Linked DNA regions of Homo sapiens: all the other regions are linked to region 2. The links are contacts of gene promoters, found by promoter capture Hi-C in human tissues and cell types (Jung and others, 2019). All regions are on one chromosome and are shown on one strand. Each heading gives the region's core, a stretch centred on a gene start or on the middle of the fragment in contact. The rest is flanking DNA. Distances are from core to core; before and after follow the strand shown.

Evidence for each region. The method cuts DNA at HindIII sites, captures the fragments that hold promoters and counts their contacts. A contact is called where the count stands out against the background at its distance.
Region 1: a fragment that was not itself captured here is called in contact with the fragment with the promoter of NPS in region 2 in 5 of the 25 tissues and cell types used here (hippocampus, mesenchymal stem cells, mesendoderm cells and 2 more).
Region 3: a fragment that was not itself captured here is called in contact with the fragment with the promoter of NPS in region 2 in 3 of the 25 tissues and cell types used here (aorta, ovary and stomach).

What each region holds. Positions count from the first base shown.
Region 1 is chr10:127,487,452-127,491,243 of GRCh38, forward strand. No RefSeq gene overlaps it. Among named protein-coding and RNA genes, the nearest start is that of NPS, 60 kb to the right of the region's middle. The HindIII fragment of the contact is 7,769 bases long and covers 1-3,792 here.
Region 2 is chr10:127,547,386-127,551,459 of GRCh38, forward strand. NPS (neuropeptide S) reads left to right here and starts at 1,924. Exons shown (of 3, transcript NM_001030013.2): 1 at 1,924-1,991; 2 at 2,104-2,185. The coding sequence starts at 1,984. The HindIII fragment of the contact is 14,829 bases long and covers 1-4,074 here.
Region 3 is chr10:127,606,389-127,610,589 of GRCh38, forward strand. No RefSeq gene overlaps it. Among named protein-coding and RNA genes, the nearest start is that of NPS, 59 kb to the left of the region's middle. The HindIII fragment of the contact is 6,724 bases long and covers 1-4,201 here.

The DNA of each region.
Region 1 (3,792 bases), core at 448-2,947, 60 kb before region 2:
ATGGCTATTCAGACTTGGGTATTTGCTAGACATTTTCTTTAAAATGAACAAAGCAAGCCTGTCACTTCAAGGAAAGCAACTGACATTATTTTTTGCCCGTGATAAAATTCAAGCTTTCAAGTGAAAATTGGAATTTTGGAACATTCCTTCAGCCACCATGAGCTTAACAGTCTCCCTTGACTTAAATACTTCACTGATGACACAGGTGGTGATTTTAACAAAGATGATTTTTTAATCCTGTACAATGAAATGTGTCAACATTTGGAAGATCTGCATAACAGTGACCTGCCATTTTCCAAAGACCAATGCCTGCTGTTATGTGGAGAAATGATCCTTTCAAAGCACAAGATGGACCAAGAGTTTAATGTAGCAGAGCAAAAAATATTCCCTGGTGGGGTTTCTGATTCTACATTGCAATATACTTTAAGAACCTATAACTTGCTGAGTTTTTATGTAGTCTGTAAGAGGAATATCCACAATGATTGGAAAAGGCTATTAAAATACTTTTCCAACAGCATATCTGAATGAGGCCTGAATTTCTTATTATACTTCAACCAAAACCACAGATCACAACAGGTTAATTCTGAAGATTCAGCCATCTTCTACTAAGCCAGACATTAAAGAGATATGTGGCAACGCCACTCTTTGCATTATATTTTGTTTGTTTTGGGAAAAATAGCTATTTTTTAAAATAAAATAGCGTATGTTAATACATCATGGCTTTATTAGTATTATTTTAAACTCTATCAAGAATTTAGAAGCATTTTTAGTTTTATTTTCTAATACGATAACATTAATAGATATAACCCACATTAACAAAAGTTATTTGGGGGTCTTCAAACATTTTTGAGAGGGTAAAGTGCTTCTGAGATCCAAAGGTTTAAGAATTACTGGCCCAGTTAATCCTTGTCCTAATCCCGCTCTCACCTAGGGAGGAGAAGACAGTAGGCTGATAGGACAGTGACTGCATCGCACCTGCCACTAAGCCTGGGGATCAGCGTGCATTGCACTAAACACAGAAGCACAGGATGCCCCCACTGCTTCCTACCCAGTGTGGATGGGGCACGAGCGCCTGGTGCTGGCTGCCTGCCTGTCCTCTTGCCTCTCTTCCTGGCAGCTTCGACATCACATGGGTCCGGCATCCTTGTCGTTCCCGTTCTTGGATCTCCGAGGTCCCAGGAGTCCCAGTAGTTTTTTCACTTCTCACTTCATACCCTAGACTACTGTTTTTCATGAAGTCCCATTGTTTTCCAAATATGTTGCAGTTTTTCCAAGTTTGTTGTTTGCTTTTAAACTTTTTTGCTGGTGTCTTTTGACATACAAATCATGTCGATGTTTTATATAATGTAAATTTTTTTTTTTTTTGGAGATGGAGTCTCACTTTGTCACCCAGGCTGGAGTGCAGTGGTGCAATATTAGCTCACTGATGCAACCTCTGTCTCCTGGGTTCAAGTGATTGTCCTGCCTCAGCCTCCCACCAACATACCCAGTTATTTTGTATAGTAATCATTTAATTTATAGCTTTTGCTTTGCTCTTTCATGTTGACTAAATTATTTTTTTACCATAAGGTTATAAAAATATTCTTCTAAATTTTCTTTGGAATTTTAATGTCTTCTTTTTTTTAGATTTATCCCTTTAACACAATTGGAATTTTAAAAAGTTATTTTTTGAAGTTAATCGGCATACGATAAAATGAATGCACCCATACTAAGTGTAGATTTGATGTATTTTATATTTCCACTTAATATATTAAAATCTATATACCATGCATGTACACACTGTCAAATGTAAACATCACTGTATACCACTATTTAGACATTCAACTATTGAAGCATAATTGAGTTGCTTCTGTTTTGGATTAGAAATAATGTTTTGTTATATTGTTAATAAAGCTGATAGGAACATTTATATACAAGTCTTTTTGTGAACACAGTTTTAAAGATTATATATTCAGGCCGGGCGCGGTGGCTCCGCCTGTAATCCCAGCACTTTGGGAGGCCAAGGCGGGCAGATCACGAGGTCAGGAGATCGAGACCATCCCGGCTAAAACGGTGAAACCCCGTCTCTACTAAAAATACAAAAAAAAAAAATTAGCCGGGCGTAGTGGCGGGCGCCTGTAGTCCCAGCTACTCGGGAGGCTGAGGCAGGAGAATGGCGTGAACCCGGGAGGCGGAGCTTGCAGTGAGCCGAGATCCCGCCACTGCACTCCAGCCTGGGCGACAGAGCGAGACTCCGTCTCACAAAAAAAAAAAAAAAAAAAAAAAAGATTATATATTCAAATTGGTTGTTACTGATATAAAGGAAAGTTGCTTTGAAAATGATTTTAACGTTATATGCAGGAATTTTAAGAAATGCTCTTGTTAAGGAGTTTTAATCATGTTTCTTAGAAATGCTCTTAGATTTTTCTGGGTAGACATTGAGGTAATCCTCTAATGATGATCATCTTGTCTTTTCCTTTGCAATAAACATTTTGCTTCGTGTTTTTGCCTTATTATATTAGTTACAGCCTTCAGAGCAAAGTTGAAGAATAGCAATTATTCTTGTTCCCAACTGTATGAGTCATCTATTGTTGTGTGATGTTATGGTTGAATTGTGTCTCTTAAAATTCATATGTTGACATCCCAACCCCAACAACTCAGAATGTGATCTAATTTGGAAATAAGGTCTTCAAAAAGATAAGCAAATTAAGATGAGGTCATTAAGGTAGGCTGTAATCCAATATGACTAGTAGCTCTGAAAAGGAGACATAGACACACACGCAGGGAGAACGCCATGTGAGCCTGAAGACGGCCACCCACGAGCTGGGGAGGGAGCCCTAGAAGGATCTCTTCTAGCCCTCAGGAGAAACCAGTCCTGCCAACACCTTGATCTCAGACTCTGGCATCCAGAACTGTGGCTCCCCATAATGCCTGTTGTTTAAGCCACCAGTTTCTGGTACTTTAATACTGCAGCCCTAGCAGACTAGTACATTTAACAAATCACCCTAAAACATAGTGGCATAGAACAGTCTAATGATCTGTTATTAAGTCTGATGCTTGTGGGATGTTTCTAATAGATACTCTTAATTTTAGAAAATTTAATTCTACTCTTGGAATACTTAGAATTCGTATCAGAAGTGGATTGTGACCATACTAAATGTTTTTTTGGCACCCATATAGATGACCATATGGTTTTCTCATTTAACCTCTTAACATAATGAATTGCAGCGATGGCTTCCCTGATGTTCTGATTCTGCCCGTAGTACAGTTTATCTTCTCTCCCCTTAGGTGAGTTCATTGAGGGTGTAGCCGTCCCTGTATCCTCCGTGCCTGGTGCGGGGGCTGGCACACAGCAGACTCACAGTTAATGCCTGCTGAAATGCATTATATCAATTATCATTTAAATTCAAGGCCATCTTCTTCAACTTAAATCAGATGGACCACTGGAGGTGACTTTTTTTTTTTCTAGTTTTCAGCACAGCTTATTCCTAGACATCCCTTGAGCAGCCCACCTGTGCAGCCACAAGTTTTTCCTTCTTCCCTCCCCCTCCCCAGTCCCCTTTCCCTACCGAGTACCTTCCTGTTCTGCAAACACAGCTATGTCTTCTCTTCTTCATTATTCAACAATGAGAGGTGTCTATTAAAAAAAGCTAAGGGCAAAGTGCATTATTTGTATTTATAATGGCCCCTCTTTCTCACCTGAAGATGAATTTGCCTTTTTTAAAAAACTGGTTTTGGGGAATAAATAATTCTCCGGAGTAGTCTGAAATTCACAAAGAAGTAGCCTCTGGGAGACTGTAATGGGAATTTTGG
Region 2 (4,074 bases), core at 674-3,173:
GCGGGAAAATCACTTGAACCTAGGAGGTTAAGGCTGCAGTGGGCCATCATCATGCCACTGCACTTCAGCCTGGGCAACAGAGGGAGATCCTGTCTCAAAAATAAAAAATAAAAATAATAAACCTGTCATCTCCTGCCAATTCTAGAGAGTAGACAGTGTCTGGCAATGGGAAGTTGGGAGAGGATGTGCTATTGATTGAGTTGATTCTTAAACAAATTTCCACTTAACCCTCCATTTTGGTACCATCTTCACTACATGCAAAAATAACTTGAGTCTTTTGGGGGTATTTCAGTAAGCACCTTTCTCAGATCCACTTGATCAATTGTTTATCACTTAATAAAATCCTTCTGCATTCTTTTTGGGTTCCTGCGTGTGTGTGTGTGTGTGTGTGTGTGTGTGTTTTAGCTAAAACAACCAAAAGTAAATATGTGTGTTCAGTCCCTTTGTGCTCTTAGGCCCTTTGTCTCCTAATATCCACACTATGTCCCATAAGAACACTGATCAAAGTAGTTTGGATCACTTCCTCAGCCCCTCAACTTGGCTCTAATCTTGTGAGCTTGGTTCTCTTGAGAGTCCAGGTCATCTGCTTTTCCTTGTGATGGCAAACTGTGACTGTATGATTGACAGCTACATAAAAATCATGCAAATGGCAGTTCCCCAAAGAAAGAAATGCAGTGCCAACAAATTGGCAGCAACTGTCCCAGACACAGGGCAGCTTTGTCCTCCAAAAGGTGCTGATCTCGAGGAGGCACGGATTATCCTTGGTTGCTTTGTATTCAAAAACTGTTGGCATCATCTCAGAAACACTAGTTATCCAAGCAGAAAGCACCTCCCTTGGTGTTTTTCTCCATTGTAAGCCTCAGCAACATCTGTTCATACTTAGAGCTCCTGAATCCATTTATTAATGCAGATGCCCATTGAAGTGCAAGGACAGCAAAGGCTGCCTGAAGAAATTCCATACCCTGGGGAGAAAAAGGAAGCCATGAAAAGCAGGCTCTCCCAGAACTGTGGGCCTGGGACTTTGGGAGCCCGTGGGACTTTTGGGAGTACATGGCATGGACAGGGGATACACAGTGTCCTTCCTTTATTTCGATGACTAGCGGAAAAGGTGTGACATTTATTTTCCTGCTTTAACTGCTGAAGTCCTAAAGGAAAGAAATCTAAGGTAGAAAATGTAAATAATCTGCATGAGTTGTTTGGGTAAATGTGTTTTTTTGTTTGTTTTTGTTTTGTTTTGTTTTGTTTTGAGTCAGAGTCTGGCTCTGTCACCCAGGCTGGAGTGCAGTGGGGCAATCTCGGCTCACTGCCACCTCTGCCTCCCGGGTTCCAGCGATTCTCCTGCCTCCTGCCTCAGCCTCCCAAGTAGCTGGATTACAGGTGTGCACTACCACGCCTGGCTAATTTTTGTATGTTTAGTGGAGATAGGGTTTCACCATGTTGGCCAGGCTGGTCTCAAACTCCTGACCTCAGGTGATCCACCTGCCTCGGCCTCCCAAAGTGCTAGGATTACAGGTGTGAGCCACCGTGCCCAGCTGGGTAGATGTTCTTTATTCCTGTAAGTATTTCTTTTGTGTTAGTTTCTGAAACATAATGTCTGGGACATTCAAGGAAAGAATGTCATCCTTCTTAAAGGTTTAAATTCTAAGCTAAAAAAACCTTTTGTTTCCTTTTGAGACCTCTGGCCACCCATGCCACAATGATTCAGTCTCGAAGACAATGGTTTTGAAGGACATTCTTAATGGCAAACTTTAAATGAAGTCGATCATTGGCAGCTCAATGACAATGCCCATATGTTATGTCCTTTTCTTCTTAACAAGAACAAAAGGCCACAGACAGAACAATTAGTCATATAGGAGGGATGAGATGACATTTTTACTCCCGAACTTTTCTGGTATAAAAGGGCCACCCAATGAGGGTCTGAGAGTAAGTGTGAGAAATTTGGCAATAAAACCACCTATCTTTACAGATTTTGGGAAGTCCAAAATGATTAGGTAAAAGGCTACGTTTTTCTGCAAAGAAAAATGTTGCATTTTCATATGCTGTTTTACTTATTCTTGCCTACTTGAGACTAAATCTTGATTGTACTTTTTTTCTACTTTGCAGCTCAGTAAAACTCAATCTCATCCTAGTTCTGTCGCTGTCCACAATGCATGTGTTTTGGTGTTATCCAGTTCCATCTTCTAAGGTAAGGATTTGCCTCCGTTGTGGATATTTAAATAGATGACTAGAATGGTAAATTATGTAAATTCCAAATACTTTCAAGGAATATGTGACAGAAAAGTAATTTCCTTTATTATTAGAGTTCTCAATGGGAAAAAGTCAGCAGATTGATGACATTAGTAAAAGAAAATATTAGTGTGACAAGTAACACTGGACTATATTCAAATTTGTTTTGAATTATTTAGGGTTGGCTCCTGCAAAGGGAAATATTCATCTCAATCTAAAGTAATTTTTTTGCCAATGGCAATTTATTTATTCCACATGCATTCATTCATAATCAAAGTGAACACTTAACCATGGAAACTATATTAAAAATAAAGTGGTCATTTTTCAAAAACAGTTTAATTTTTTCAGATGCAGAATATAGATAAAACGTTAGCTCTAAATAAAATATCACATAAAATATTAATTCATATATTTATTAGAGAATATTGATTGAACTCCTACGTTCATTGAACTGTTCAAGACATTCAGAAAATAAATATCTTTCTTTGGAATATTTAATATTATTTCTACATAATATTTCAGTTGCCTTTATGTCAATATTTTGTTTATAATTTTAAAATATCTTTTGTCATTGACGGCATTTTGAACTTGAACTTTTTTTCACTAAAACGTAACCTGTCACATTATAATGACTGAAATCAATGTGATTTATGAAACTACTTTTAGGATAAAGGGATGTCGCATAAATCCTAAGTGATAAATATATGTCTGAACATAATGATCTAGTTATTTATATTATTGGCCTTTTCACTAATCTTTGCATCTGTCATTTTTCTATTTCTTGTTTATTTAATATAGCTTCTTTTTTTTGGTTTCCTCCTATGAGCATTCAACACTAATTTAGTCATCAATTCTATAAGACACCACATTGATCAAGCTGATGAGTCACAATCCATATACTGGTATATTTTCTCAAGTGTCTTCCTAATTACTTTCTGTTCTTTCCCCAAAGGTTTACTCATGACATTTCTGTTGAATAACAGGCTCTTCTCTGTAGCTTTTTTAAAAGAAATTAAGAATGTACTTTGTTCTAAAATACTTATGAGACTTCCTTGTCCATAAATGAAATGTTTCTCCTTTCACTGCATTTTCCTTATTTCTATTTTTGCACGTGACAGTTTTGTTCTTGTTATTACCTAGTTCCGTAGTAAGAGTGTGGATGCTATTCATGCCAATTTGATTGCTTAGGGTGAATGATTATGCAGGCAGACGACACATAGGCTTTTATAATATTTGTTGCGAACTTCACTGAGTCCATTAACCAGGCAAATATACAATCTTATTATGTTAATGAGTCTGCCCTGGCAAGGGCTGCCTTCGACGATCAGCAAAGTGCATCAGTGTCTTTTTAGGGATGTTTCAGGAATCTCATAACCAGAACTGATACATTCCTTTTGCAGTATAAAGGTGGCATCATGAGTATTTCTGGAAAGAACTGGCTTGCTTCCCTTCCTGCAATGACTCAGAGGCCCTTCCCTGCTGGGGATTTTAAATAGAAGGCGTTCTCTCTATCATGTTTAGATTTCCTCTGTTAGCACACGGAAAAATACATAGTGGATGTCCGACTAAGAGTGTTTGATTGGTTTTCTCATGACCAATATTTCTGAAACTCTCTGACCAAACTCTCTGAGATGAAAAAGGGGGGAAAAAGCCCATTTTTTTTCCCCAGAGGCCAGTGGGAATGATTTGTCTGGGTTGCACTGAATCTTCAGTAAACCACCCACGCGTGGGTGAAGAATTACAGGGAACGCTTTATGCACTCTGGCCCCGTTTCGACTTCCATACAGTAACCTGAGACCACACTTGTTTTCCTGCACCAAGATAGAAAAAAAAGTATGAGTTTTACCT
Region 3 (4,201 bases), core at 882-3,381, 59 kb after region 2:
GGAGAAAAGGAACCACCCAGGGTTCACCATGTGAGAAATTCAGCAAGGGTTCAGTTTAGAACTGGAGGAACTGGGAAAGCAAAGCTGCTGCCCCTCCATAAGCTCCCTAGAGGATCAAGATGAATGATATTTTTTCCACTATATCTAGGTTGGGGGTGAGGGGTCTTTTACTTAATTTTTTTTTTTTTTTTTTTTTGAGACAGAGGAGTTTTGCCCTGTTACCCAGGTTGGAGTGCAGTGCTGCAATCGTGGCTCACTGCAACCTCCACCTCCTGGGTTCCAGCAATTCTCCTGCCTCAGCCTCCCAAGTGGCTGGGATTACAGATGTGCGCCACCACGCCCAGCTAATTTTTGTATTTTTAGTAGAGACGGGGTTTCAGCATGTTGACCAGACTGGTCTCGAACTCCTGACCTCAGGTGATCCGCCCATCTCGGCCTCCCAAAGTGTTGGGATTACAAGGTGTGAGCCACCGTGCCTGGACTTTATTTAGTTTTTAGTGTAAAATTTACAGACAATGTGCACAAAGGCTAAGTGGCCATTTGCTGATTTTTGACAACTGCACACACCTGTGTAACCCAAGTCCCTATCAAAGTATAAAAGGTTACCATCACCCCAGAAAGCTCCTTCAGGCCCCTTTCCAGTCAAATCCTCCTCTGCTATAATTTTAAAGCTATCTTAACTAAACTTTTTGTTTTGAGATCATTGTAGCTTCATACACAGTTATAAGAAATAATTCAGAAGGAACCTATGTGCCTTTTATATCCCTTCAATGGCAGCATCTTTTAAAACTGTTAACAATTAATTAATACAACAATTACAGCCAGGATACTGACATCAACACAGTGATGATTCAAAGGCTCTGTCTCTACTAGGATCTCTCCTGCTGCCTCTCATAGCCACACCCAGCCCCCTCCTGCCCTTGCTTTATCCTTAACCCCTGGCAACCACTAAGCTGTTCTCCATTTCTATCATTGTGTTATTTCAAGAATGTTCTAGAAAGGGATTTATGCAGCATGTAAACTTTTTGGGATGGCTTTTTTTTTTTCACTCAGCCTAATTCTCTGGAGATTAACCCAGGTTGCTGCACAGATAGTTCTTATTTTGCCAAGTAGTAGTCCATGATACAAATGCACTCCAGTGTGTTTAACCATCCACTGTGGAAGGACATCTAAGTTGTTTCCCATTTCGGTTACTGCAAATGGAGCGGCTATGAAACATGCGTGTACAGGTGTTTGTGTGAACATAAATCTTCATCTCTCTGAGATAATTGCCCAGAAGTGCACTGCTGGGTCATGTGGGATTTGCATGTTTATATTTTAAGAAGCCACTGAAGTGTGTTCTAGAGTGCCTGTGCCATTTGGTATTCCTACCAGCAATGTGTGGGCCATCCAGGTTGCCAGCTTTTTCAGCTCCAAGCTTGGGATATATGAGGCAAAAAGAAAACCCCAAGAACCCTCCACTGTGTTGTTGCTTGTGATGCAAGGCAGGTTAGCCCACAAATTGGGGCTTAGCCTGGGAGGGTTCTTGGCTTTGCACAAGAAAGAATTAAAAAGAATTTAAGGGTGAGCTGGTGGTGAGAGAAAGCAAGTTTATTGAAGGGGCAGTGCCTGGCAGAGGTGCTGCTCCTTGCAGAGCAGGGCTAACCCATAGGCATTCTGTACCCAGAGTACCCAGAGTCTATGGGCTGTTGGAAGCCATATTTATATCCATTTTTAATTACATGCTAATTAAGTGGAGGGTTATTTAAATCTTTCTGGATAAGGGAGTTTCTAGAACCATATAAGGTAACTTTCAGGTCATTGCCAAGGTGCATTGCCATGGCATTTGTAAACTGTCATGGTGCTGGTGGGAGTGTCTTTATGTTAACGAGCAGTGAGGGCAGCTAGAGGTGACTTTTGTAGTCATTGGCTGGTTTCTGCCAACTTTCTCCCTGTACCCTGTTTCCACCAGATCCTGCTCCCATTAACTGGGTCACAACCCAGGTCATGGCCAGTGCTTGAAAAACAAGTCCCACTGATCTCCTGCCTCACTTGGTCTCAGGGTTCCCACTGTTCCGCCTTCTTTTCTTCACATTTTAGAGTTTTAAAATTTTTGTTATGTATGTGTAATGTTCTGGGTATTTAGTTGTACATTATGAAAAGAATAGGAGAAAGTATGTCTACTTCATCTTTTCAGAAGCAGAAATACTTCTTTTTAAATGGGACTTTATGGGGTATAATTTACATATAGAAACATGTCTACTTTTTAAGTGTGCACTGGTTACAGTTTTACACATATGCGCCCATTATGCCCTCCACCCAGCTCAATATATCAGACATCTCTGATCCATTCTCTAGAAAATTTCCCTGTGCTCTTTCTTATCAAGTCACCGCCTTCCTCCCCACCTTTCAGGAGACCACAATTCTGGCTTTTCCCACCATAGCTTAGGTTTGCCTGTTTTTGAAATTCATATAAATAGAATCATACAGTAAGCACCATTTTGTGCCTTGCTTCTTTTTGGCAACATATTTTTGAGATTCACCCATGTTATTCCATGTATTAAAAGATCATTACTTTTTACTGCTGAGTAGCACTTCATTATGTAAATATACCACAATTAATTTGTCCTCTTCAAGATATGAATCTTAAAGGGGAATTTTATGCCAGTAAGCTGAGGAGTTGGAGCTGAAATTTGGATTGGTAAGGCCAATGACACATGGGTCATAAAGGTAAAGGTTGGAAATAAAAATCATGGCTGTTTTTAATACTTTGAGACAGGTTAATATGAAATGTACAGTCTACCTTCTTCAAACAGTCATTTTACGAAAATCTGATTAGGCTCTCATCTCCTATGGCTATCTGTACCTTTTGAAATTGGGATTAGTTGCTAGCTATGGGCCTCTGTGAAATCTGCTGAACTCATGCTGTCAGAATTCATTATATGATCACCACCATTTTAGCAGTAATATGCCTGATATCAAGTGATAAAGAGAATGTGATGCCATTATCGATGAGAAAAGACTATTCACATTTTGCTTTATAAAATTTAAAAAGCCACTTCATATTGCTTTGCTTTTAAAATGAAACAATGTAAAATAATGAAACATTAACTCAATTATAGATTTGTATTTTGTTTGCAGAGATTTTAATCTGTAATGCTCAATAACAGATATCTCTGCTGAAGATGGGGAAGGGATGATATGCAATGGTCTCAGCCTGCGGAAATATACCCTTATGAGCCACAAAAGCAGTGATTGGCTCAGAAAATTATTCACAGTGTGCTTATTACATGCATGTTACTGGACAATCAGCACATACAAAGAGGGTTACAGCAGAGATCCTGCCCAAAAAGAACTTGCAAACTAGTTGACAGAAAAGACTAATACAAGGAAAATGAAATAATACAAGATTTCTTAATAACCACTCTCTATGTGAATAAAGCTACCTGCAAGTTTGTAACTTCCTCACAGAAGATCTTGCCCAGAAACCTAAAGTTGTGATGCAGGGGAGATATTCCTTTCATTTTGAAGTAAGTAAGACTCAAAAGGAACAAGTGGCTTGCCCAAGTCACGTCAGGTGAGTGTGTGGAAGAGCCAGGAGCCTGGATATGCACCCCCACTCCTCTTCCCATGACAGTCTTGCCTTCATGCTGAATCCCACTTATGGAAGGAAGGATAACCTCTGTCCTGGCTTCCTCAGCACTGGCTCCGAATGGAGACACCGGTAGAGGATGTGCAGGTCTGTGCTGAAGCAGCTGAGTCCTCAAGGGTTGGTTAGATTTGGTAAAGTAGATTCAAATGGTACCCCCAGAAGACGGAATAGCATGAGCTAAACTTTTGGAGCCAATGAGTACAAGGTTGAGGGGAGAGTCATGTTTGGATTTCCTAACCCGCAGGGCCAGGATGGAAAAGAGGAGAGGATACTCCCATAGAAGAGGGCTGAAATTAGAATTGGAAAATGACCAAGCTGAGATGGCAATGTCTGGGACCAGAGTAGGAGCAGAGGAAACAATAAGCCAAGGGAAGGGTCTGATTGTATGTGCATGCGTGGCTTTTTCTTGCACTCCTTTCTGCTTTTGTTTAGTTAGTTTTCAATGTTTTGATTGGAAGCTATATGTGATGTGAGGTGATGGGTAAAAGGAACAGAGGTGCAGAGGCCTTCCAGGAAAGGTTATATGTTTATCTGGCTAGGAGCTGGGCTGTGTCTGCTGTCACTGGAATG